3 separate regions of the Homo sapiens genome follow, and regions 1 and 2 are each linked to region 3. The links are contacts of gene promoters, found by promoter capture Hi-C in human tissues and cell types (Jung and others, 2019). All regions are on one chromosome and are shown on one strand. The core of a region is centred on a gene start or on the middle of the fragment in contact, and the rest is flanking DNA. Distances in the headings are between cores, read along the strand shown.

Evidence for each region. The method cuts DNA at HindIII sites, captures the fragments that hold promoters and counts their contacts. A contact is called where the count stands out against the background at its distance.
Region 1: a contact is called between a fragment that was not itself captured here and the fragment with the promoter of TRPA1 in region 3, in 1 of the 25 tissues and cell types used here (H1 embryonic stem cells).
Region 2: a contact is called between a fragment that was not itself captured here and the fragment with the promoter of TRPA1 in region 3, in 1 of the 25 tissues and cell types used here (H1 embryonic stem cells).

What each region holds. Positions count from the first base shown.
Region 1 is chr8:72,136,673-72,139,819 of GRCh38, reverse strand. No RefSeq gene overlaps it. Among named protein-coding and RNA genes, the nearest start is that of TRPA1, 63 kb to the right of the region's middle. The HindIII fragment of the contact is 3,795 bases long and covers 1-3,147 here.
Region 2 is chr8:72,110,355-72,113,622 of GRCh38, reverse strand. No RefSeq gene overlaps it. Among named protein-coding and RNA genes, the nearest start is that of TRPA1, 36 kb to the right of the region's middle. The HindIII fragment of the contact is 4,383 bases long and covers 1-3,268 here.
Region 3 is chr8:72,073,752-72,077,052 of GRCh38, reverse strand. It overlaps TRPA1 (transient receptor potential cation channel subfamily A member 1), which reads left to right and starts at 1,469. Exons shown (of 27, transcript NM_007332.3): 1 at 1,469-1,754. The coding sequence starts at 1,644. RefSeq lists an enhancer at 1,093-1,664. The HindIII fragment of the contact is 6,537 bases long and covers 1-3,301 here.

The DNA of each region.
Region 1 (3,147 bases), core at 377-2,876, 63 kb before region 3:
CCTTCAACACTGGGGATTACAATTGACACAAGATTTGTGCAGGGACACAGATCCAAACCATATCAATGGGTATATATGAAGACCCAACATCTGAAAAAAAGAAATGGAAGTTTTGTTGATTAGCGTAGGGGCAAATAGTCATATATTTTGATTGATACGGGCTATAATAAAATTTATAATAAAATTCAGAAAAGAATATGTTAAGAACATATTTTTAATAAAAAAGTAAGTAAGTGGTTTTTAAAGTAAGTGTCAAAACATAAAAGTTAGTCAGGAAAAAATTATATCCAAAGGTTATTTATTTACTTAATTCTTTATGTTGGGGTGAAAATGATAATAGTCATCCAGAAATTCAGCTCTCTGGATTGACTTATCCTCCAAGAAGTCTAGATAATTGAAATTCTACTATTTAATTATTAACTTAGTGTGAGCTTAATAAATATTATTGATTATTACCTAAATGACAAATGTAAACTAAACTTTCATTACATCCAGCTAGTAGAAGCTTTTGGGAAGAATATGATACGTAAGCAATTTTACTTTTAGTTGTGACAGGGTCATAGGTTACATAGATAAAGGGAAGCCCAGGGACATACGTTAACCTAGCTTTGTAAAGTTTTTGAATTTCTATTTTTACTTACATGCTTAGTGACAAATCGGGGAATGTGGCACCTTTGCAAGGTGAATGAGAAACTTAGTTTTAAATGTCTAAATCAAAGGGTTATGACCAATCTGGCAGTTTTACTGAATAGCGTCCATGCAGACCATGTGGCTGGGTGTAGCGCTGTAAAATGTTAAAAGTCCATGGTCAATGATCAAGGTCAGTACACCTATCAGAGTGCATTTCTGGGCAGTGAAGGAGCCTGTCCACATCAATCTGGCCGTTACCCTTGGCAGCCAGCACAACACTGGGACAAAAAAGCAGAGGAAGACACAGAGAAGAGCTCTCACAGGACACAACCACCTAGAGAAGTCTTTTTCACCTAACACATGACAGGCGGTGGACACCCAGACAGCATGGCTGAAGGGCAACCTCCTTTACACAGAATTGATGAAGACTACTTTTAAAGCCTGGCATTTGCCTGGCCTAGAGTTATCAATTACAATGAAGTCCCTAGCAAAGTAATAACCATCCCAGGGCACTTTTACACAGGACAAGAATAGCGTAAGACAAACAGTGAAGTATCAGTGGGATCTGGACACAATGTAGCACAGGAAAGGTGAGAACACTTTGCTTAAGCATATCTGCTGTTATGGGTTGAACTGTGGTCCCCCCAAATATGTGGGCTAAAGTCCTAACTTTCCATATTTCAGAAAGAGGCCTTATTTGGAAATAGGGTCATTGCAGACGTAATTAGCTAAGATGAGGTCCTGCTGGAGTAGGATGGCCCCTAATCTAATATGACTGGCATTCTTATAAAAAGGGGAAATTTGGACCCAGAGACATCACATAGGGAGGACACAATGTAAAGGGAAAGGCAGAAATCATCAGAGTGATGCTTTTACAAATGAAGGACCATTAAAGATTGCCAGCAGCCCACCAGAAGCTAGGAGAGAGGCATGGGATAGATTCTCCCTCCTAGCCTTCAGAAGGAACCAACCCTACCAACGTCTCAGAATAAGTTTTGAATTTCTTTTCTCCAGAACTGTGAGACAATAGATTTCTGTTGTTTAAGCCACCCAGGTTGTGGCACTTTGTTTATGGTTGCCCTAGGAAACCAACACACCTGTTTCTTCAGTTCCTTGGGAAGAATTAAAAACTAACTACCAGAACATCATTGTATAGCATTTATTAAGTATTGTATGGAGAGAAAGAAAAAGAAATAATAGGTAGAAACATTTTAATTAATTCTAATTGCTTTATTTCTACTCATATTTACTTGTCTATTCCTCTATCTACCTTATTTCTATCCATAGTTAAGGTAACTGCATAGAGAACTGTCCATCAATCTCATTTCATGCAGTGAGGTCAGTCATTCTCAGCTGCTTCTTGCTGTTGCTATAGTACATTCTAAGCACTATTAGAGATATTTGCATTCAAGATTCTGTTGACCTGGGGCGGGAAGGCGGGGCGCAGACCAATGAAAGTGTGCCTTGAATGGAGTGGCACATCAACCACACTCCTGTGGCGTGCACCACAGGTCAGATCAGGAAATTAACAACTATATGTTGAGCCACTACTATGTACAGGGCTCACTGTGAGGCATTTGGGGACCATACATATGTTAATAACTGCTGAGCTGGACATCAGCAGGAGTACGGGCGTCATTTTTTCAGTTTTTTATTACTAACACCCTGAATGGAAAGAAGGTGCCGAGTTGGTAGGCCAAATCACAGGACTCTTTTGACTTTATGTTGGGTTCGATATCACCAAGGCCTGGCAAAGCCTGACTGACTACAGCACCTTCCTCTTCCTCATAAAGACGTTCATTCACCAGGCATCCCTACTTTCTGGGCATTTGCAGGAGTGAAGCCTGGTCACCTAGAAACAGAATGGTCAAGAAAGTCAAAGATAGTTTATTATTATATAATTACAATAAATCACTTACATATACTTCCCCCATTTATAAAGGGAAATTTTCTCATAATCTCTAAAAATGTATATATTTATCTTCTTCATTTCTATTATGGAAGAATATTTATGGATTTAGAGGTAACATGATTTTGAAGTAGTTGATAATTGGTTTTCTGTTTATTTGCTTCGATTTTTTATGTGTGACTTTCTGGAAGATGTTTTATGGAAATCATAGAATACCGTATCCACTCTACTGTGTTCAAGAAGTCCACCGGTAATGAAAGCTTCCCGCATGTGCTACTTCGCCCTTACCAGATAAAATACCCTCTCTTCCAGGATGGCCCTCAGCAGACCGTGGCTTTTAAAACGGCATCATTGAACTACAATTAGAAGTGGCTTCCTGACTTACACACCAATTAAACTACTTTCGGAAACTATTTGCTTCCTTAATGGGATGGGAAGAGCAGCCAAACAGCAATCATGGATGCAGTGGGCAGACAAGATGAAGATTCTAGTGGAAATAAGGTGATGAAATCTGAGTTATTTCATTAGCGTCCAGTGTTTTGTTATAAATCAATTATCATAGAATGTTTTCAAATTGTTAGGAGCACCTTAAATTGGATATATCTGTA
Region 2 (3,268 bases), core at 738-3,237, 36 kb before region 3:
TTGAATACCACTGTATACCTAACATTTACAAAGGACCTATTGGCTCAAATGAAGTTGGTTGAATAAATAAATAATCATAAATTATTTATAACAATATCACTTTATCTGTCACCTTTAATTAAATTTTTCATAATTTTTCAGGTCATAGAGTGACAGATACAAGGATAAGACACCTTACCATGGACAAACATTTGAATCGGTGACCAAGAAAATACAGACGAAATCTGTTCCAGTTTTGTAAAATATAGAAAAGTCACTCAGATCACTAAAAGAATTCAGATAAATACAAGCAAATTGAAGTTTGTTTTAGAACATGCTTGACCTGGAAGTGAAGTAGGAACTAGGAAGATAGTGGGAGCTGGAGTCTACTGAGAGAACAAAGTCTCCAGCAATCTCCTGGACCACGCAATAGGTTCTCAAACTGTGTCCTGCTTCTCTTGGCAGTAGCTCCATTCCCTAGTACTCTCTCAACACTAACTAGTATCATACTTTGCTCTGTGTTTCTTTTCTCCACCTCAGTGTATGAAGTGTGTTCTTTGTAAAGTTGTACCTTTCCATTACAACCCTGGAGGGGCTGATGTGGTACATTGAAAGATGTTTGGAAAAGGGCTTTAGACCCTTGATACTTGCTTCAACCAGAGTAATTTTGTGTTTGCCTTTTGTGCATACATACTGAGATTCTGAGTGAACTTTATTTGAAAGATGTTTGGTACCGCCAGAAAAAAAAAATGTTTGAAAACCTTTGAGCACTCTCTGCTTTTCAAAGTTTCTGTTTTCTTTTGTTTTTCGATAGCCTGACATGGCTAAATCAAACCCCTCACCCATTGATATGGCCTCTTAGATTTCATTTCAGGATTTGACTCTGAATATATTTTGCTTCCACATCAACTGCTCAATACTTTATGCTCTTGGTAATTTTATAAATTCACATTTTGTAAGAAGTAATATGATGGACATAGTCAATTTTTTTCACCTTTCAGCATATGATTTCATTGCCCTTAAATTCTTTTCTCCAGACCAAAAAGCTGTAATTGCAGAGGTCACATACAGGGCAAACCTTGGCTGTGCTGAAAGTGCCCAAGATGTGGCAGATGTCCTGATATGTGTGTTGTGTGGAATTGTGGTTTCTTTATTTTTTTTTTTTTTGTCTTTATTTTTTTTTTTTTCTGAGACAGAGTCTCCCTCTGTTGCCCAGGCTGGAGTGCAATGGTGCAATCATGGCTCATGGCAAAGCCCGCCTCCTGGGTACAAGCAATTCTCCTGCCTCAGCCTCCCAAGTAGCTGGGATTACAGGCATTTGTCACCATGCCCAGCTAATTTTTTGTATTTTAATAGACACGGGATTTCACCATGTTGGCCAGGCTGGTCTCAAACTCCTGACCTCAGGTGATTCACCTGCCTTGTCCTCCCAAAATGCTCTCAGCTGCAATTTTTCTTTCTAAAGCTGAGTCATAACTTTAATAAATGACTCAACGTATTTGACAACTATTTTGTCCTACTGCATTACACTATACTTTTGGGAAAAAGGCAAAACTATGTACACCAAAAATTATTTAGCAAAGTTAAAATAGTAGCATTCCAGAAACGTTGGAAGGGGAAAGACTTTTTATTCTGATAATTTATAGATACATTCAAATGTGTATGACTAAAAGCTGTGTTTCATTATTTACGGGAAGTGTAACATGCTTTCTTATTTTTATTTTTCTTGGAAAAAGTTGTTATTAAAAAAACAAGCTTTTTAAATCTTATACCTTTTACTTATTTTTTATTTTTATTGATACATAGTATTTGTGCATGTTTATGTGGCACATGTGATATTTTGTTACATGCATGGAATGTGTAATGATCAAGTCAGAATATTTGCGGTATTTTCTAGTTATTTTGAAGTATACACTATATTGTTGTTATAGTTACTCTACTCTGCTATAATTTATTCCTTCTAACTGTATGTTTGCACCCATTAATCAACATCTCTTTATCCCCCTTACACCATATTTAAGATATGAAATCAACCTGTATCCATCAGTGAACAAATGGATAAAGAAAATGTGGTGTATATATACACAGTGGAATACTATTTAGCCATAAAAAATAATTGAATCATGTAATTTGCAGCAACATGGATGGAACTGGAGGTTAATATGTTAAGTGAAATAAGCCATGTATGGAAACACAGGTATAGATGTGGGAGCTAAAACAGTTGATCTCATGGAGGTAGAAAGTAGAATGATTCACACCGGCAAAGCTTTCAGTGGTTACGTGGAGCTAGAGTAATGAATTGGAAATTTAAGGGGTTTAATTGCATTAAAAATTTTCTCACAGGTCATTTTGTGAGTTCTAGGTCTGTCTGTACAGGAGGCTGAGGAGGAATGCAAAACACTTCTAAAGAGCAGAGAGGGAGATTCAGTAGTTTTACACCTAAAATATGCCTGCCAATACTCCTCAAGATACTCACCAAAATTTAATTCCATGTGAGATAAGGACCTAAAGAGGTCAATTGACTATCTCTGATGCCAGAAATCAATCTACAATGTTTCAAAAGCAAGGAAGCAAGCAACAAAAATATCTCAATTAAGATCCTGGAAATTACATGTCTTTAAAATAGACATGAATCATACCTAAACTGCATCTTCTTAAAACTGCAACTCAACTCTGACTTGGCACAATTCCTGATGGAATTGAGATGTTCATTCTTTCTACCTACCTTTCTAAGAAAGGAAATAGGGGAACCTCTTTTATGGAGACTTACATTAACTAGAGCCTTTATGTTTTTTTTTTTAATACCAAATGTCTCACATGCAATCAACAATTTCTAAACAGACAGTTGACTCATGAATGATCTTAGATATAGAAGTTAACAGATGAAGACATTAAAGTTCCATCAACAGTATTAATTCAGTGTTAATACAGTGATGTAAAAGTAGGCAAAGTGAACAAGAGGATTGAATACACAATCAGGATATAAATCTACAGATATTTAGACACCTGGTTTATGACAAAACTGAACTAGTAATGCACCTGACAAAAATAACTTAATGGTGCTGGGTTAATTAGATGTTCATATGAAGGACAAATGTACTTTCCCTATCTCATGGCATATATAAAAATCAATTTCATATAGATTATCCATCTATATGTGATAGGAAAAATATCAAAGTTTTTAGAAAGAAATGTAAGAAGTCATCTTTGTGACTTGGAGTAGGCAAAGGTTTTTTAAAATACTACATGAAAAGCATTAAAGATAAAGGAAAACGTTGATAAAGGGGAC
Region 3 (3,301 bases), core at 220-2,719:
TGGTATATGGAAAATATCAGGTAGGCAGCAATGGCTCAATGAGAGTTATTCTTTTTACCCAACCCTGGGATTCTTTTCTTTATTGGTTTCTCCAAATGCATTACCTCCTTCAACTAAATCATAGCAAGTTGTGCAACTGATTCTTATCTTGCATACCCTGAACACAGATGCTGATGAGAAAAGAGTGCAAAGGTGAAGTTGAACACCTGTATCCTCCAGCAAGCCATACTCATGGACTCATGATGTGGTTAAGTTCAATATTATCCTTCCAAGGAATTCCACTCCAGGGGTGGAATTGATGGCAACCTGCCATATCCATTGGAAGATTTAGGGGGACCTTTCATGGTTCCTCAATATCATCATGTCCACTCTGCCTAGCCCTAAGCTCAGCCCACCACAGCCCCTAGGTCAGAGAGTCCACAAACCGTTGCTGAGTGCACCTATGCCAGTTCCTGGATCCACGGGGGTCTTGAGTTAAGTGCTGGAGATGAGCAGGTGAATACGACAATCCAGGGCCTTCAGGAAGCACCGTCTGTCAAAGCAAAAGACTGTCAAAGCTACATTCTGTCCTGTGCAAGGTATAATCAGCCTTAGAAAGGTTTCTTGCGTTCTAGCCTTGTAAACCTGAACTTACGGCAACAGTTCCCTTGTCTGTACCAGACAGTTCCCTTGTCTGTACGTAAAAGTAGAACCAGCCTCTTCGATTGAGACACTTCGATTGACACTTAATGAAGAGCAGTCCTATAAATATAAGTCTCTCAAATGAAGCTGGGGGCAAACAAACTTGCACCAGTCAGCAGTGGCTTACGTTTAACCTCACCTTTTTATTAACCACCCTTAAACACCAAAGTGTGAGGGGGATCACTGTTATTATCCACAGGAAATGAGACCTGATATTCACAGGGACTTAATCTAGTCCCTCAAACCAGTGCTAGGATGTAGCTATTGTCCCAAACGTTTGGAATGAGAAGTTTTGTTAAAAACGTTATTTCCAAATCAAAGAGGCCGCCAGAAGAAGGTGCACGTGGTGGGAAACACAGGTCTGTAGGATTTTAGTTAGAAAAAACTCCTGAAAACTAAAAATCTTTCCAATATACCCAGTCATTCCCTCTTCCTCTCTCTTTACACCCCCCACCCTCCACCCAACACACACACACACACACACACACACACACACACACACACACACACACTCACATGCAAGGTTGGGGGGCAGGGCAAGGGGCCTCTTAGTTTATTATAACAAATTCTCTGCAATCCACCCCGACCTGACACGCTTGACTCCGTCAGTGCGCTGCTGCAGCTGCAGGACAGCGGGACGGGCGAGTCACTTTGTCCCTGAAGGGGCGAGTCCAAGGCAGACGCGGCGCCGCCGCCCTCTTTGCGAAGGAGCTCCGCGTTTCTACCTCCTCTCCGCGCCCCGCCTGCTTCCTGCACTACAAAAGTAGCGCGGGCCTGAGAACTCCTTCCAGAAGTTCTCCAGGGCTTCCGCAGAGCGACTTTTTCGCTGCCTGTGAGCTGCAGCGCGGGAGAGCTCGGGCTCGCGCGGACCCCAGCGCCTGGCAGGCTGACAGCGCTCTCTCGCCCCAGGTGCCCGCGCGCGTGGTGAGCAGCTGCACCAGGTGGCGTCCGGGGTGGGGTCAATGAAGCGCAGCCTGAGGAAGATGTGGCGCCCTGGAGAAAAGAAGGAGCCCCAGGGCGTTGTCTATGAGGATGTGCCGGACGACACGGAGGATTTCAAGGAATCGCTTAAGGTACTCTGGGGGCTCGCGGGTCTGGAGGGGTTCCGACGTGCGGGCGGGGGTCGGCTGGAGGTTTCCTTGGGGGCAGCCCTTGGTTTGGAGAAAGCGTGGGGGTTGCAAGCTTTGGGGTGTGTGCACAATCCAAGAGGTGACCCTACTAATGACGCGCCCACACAGCGCCTGCTTTATCTATTTTGTTTGCTTGTTTGTCCAACCGAATTCTTGCTCCTGGACGGGCAACTGCAGTCCAGGGAAACCTACTCAAAAAGTATCTGTATCATCTGGCACAAGATCGGGCAGCTGCCTAAAATCAGGACAATTTGGAATGTGTGCCGTTTCACTTGGACCTTTCCGTAGATTTTGTTTAGAACCAAATAGCCGAATGACTGTATCTGGTAGTCGTTGGATAACTATTTAAGAGTTCTGGGGGTTGAGAAGCCTTCTGGTCTAACAGAGTGAAACAGATAAACCAATTGTCTGCACTTAGAGCGTTGCAGAAAATGTCCCCAATAAAACGGAGGCAGGAGTGGCAAATTCCTTCTCCAGGGGTAGGAGCTTCAGGAAACGCTGTGGGGGAGGTGACCTTTTGAAGATGGGTGAGTGACCTGAGGCTCTAGGATGGGCACTTCTATTACTTATGCAGTTATCGGACCTAAAGGCAGCACTAGCTACTACCTGATGGCTTAGTCTAAGGGATAGAGGCTGTTGGGTGCTCAGAGCCCACCACTGGATTTCATCAGATTGTCAGCAGGAGAAAGGGGCTCTTTTAAAATGTTGAGACATCATTAAAAAGGTCTCTCCAAACCCTCATCACAAATCTCTTTCGACAGAGGGACCATGTTAACAGTTTCTTAAGAATTTTCCAGGTTAAAAAAAATGCTTACACAAAAACACACATGCTAATAGATCTTGTTTTATTTGCAAAGTTAAGAACTCACAGATTTCCACTCTGATTTACTCACAAAATGTATTTTTGAATACATTTCAAATTGGCACTTGTAGATTTACCTCACTCTTTTTACCAGCTTCATAATATTCCACTGTATGACTAGATCATGATTTATTTAACCAGTGTTGCACTGATGGACACTTAAGCTGTTTTGTGTTTGTTTTGTTTTGCTGTTACACATGTGACAGAGTATGTCTGTGAGTTTAGATGTAGCTTCTCTGTCTGTCTGTCCCTTGGTACCTTTATGGATATGTCTGTATGTCAAAGTCCTAGCAGGGTCAAGAGGTATGTACAGCTTTAATTTTGGTAGAAATTGACAAATTGCTCTCTAAGCAGGTTGCAGGAATTGGCACTATTGCCAATTGTGTGTGTGAGTCAGGCATGTATAGTTAATCACACACACCAAGTAGCCAGGCCTCCCAAGGTGAGTCTGTTGACATGTCCGGTTTGGCCACAGACATTTTTTGTCCTTCTTAATGTTAGCATGATAACTGTGGTCTTTTGGCTTACTCCAGAGAACTGAGTCATAAATAGATTTCAACCACTGGAATAGTATCTTTACAATTAATATGGTACAGGAAGAAATTTTAAATTTCTAAAATCACCCATG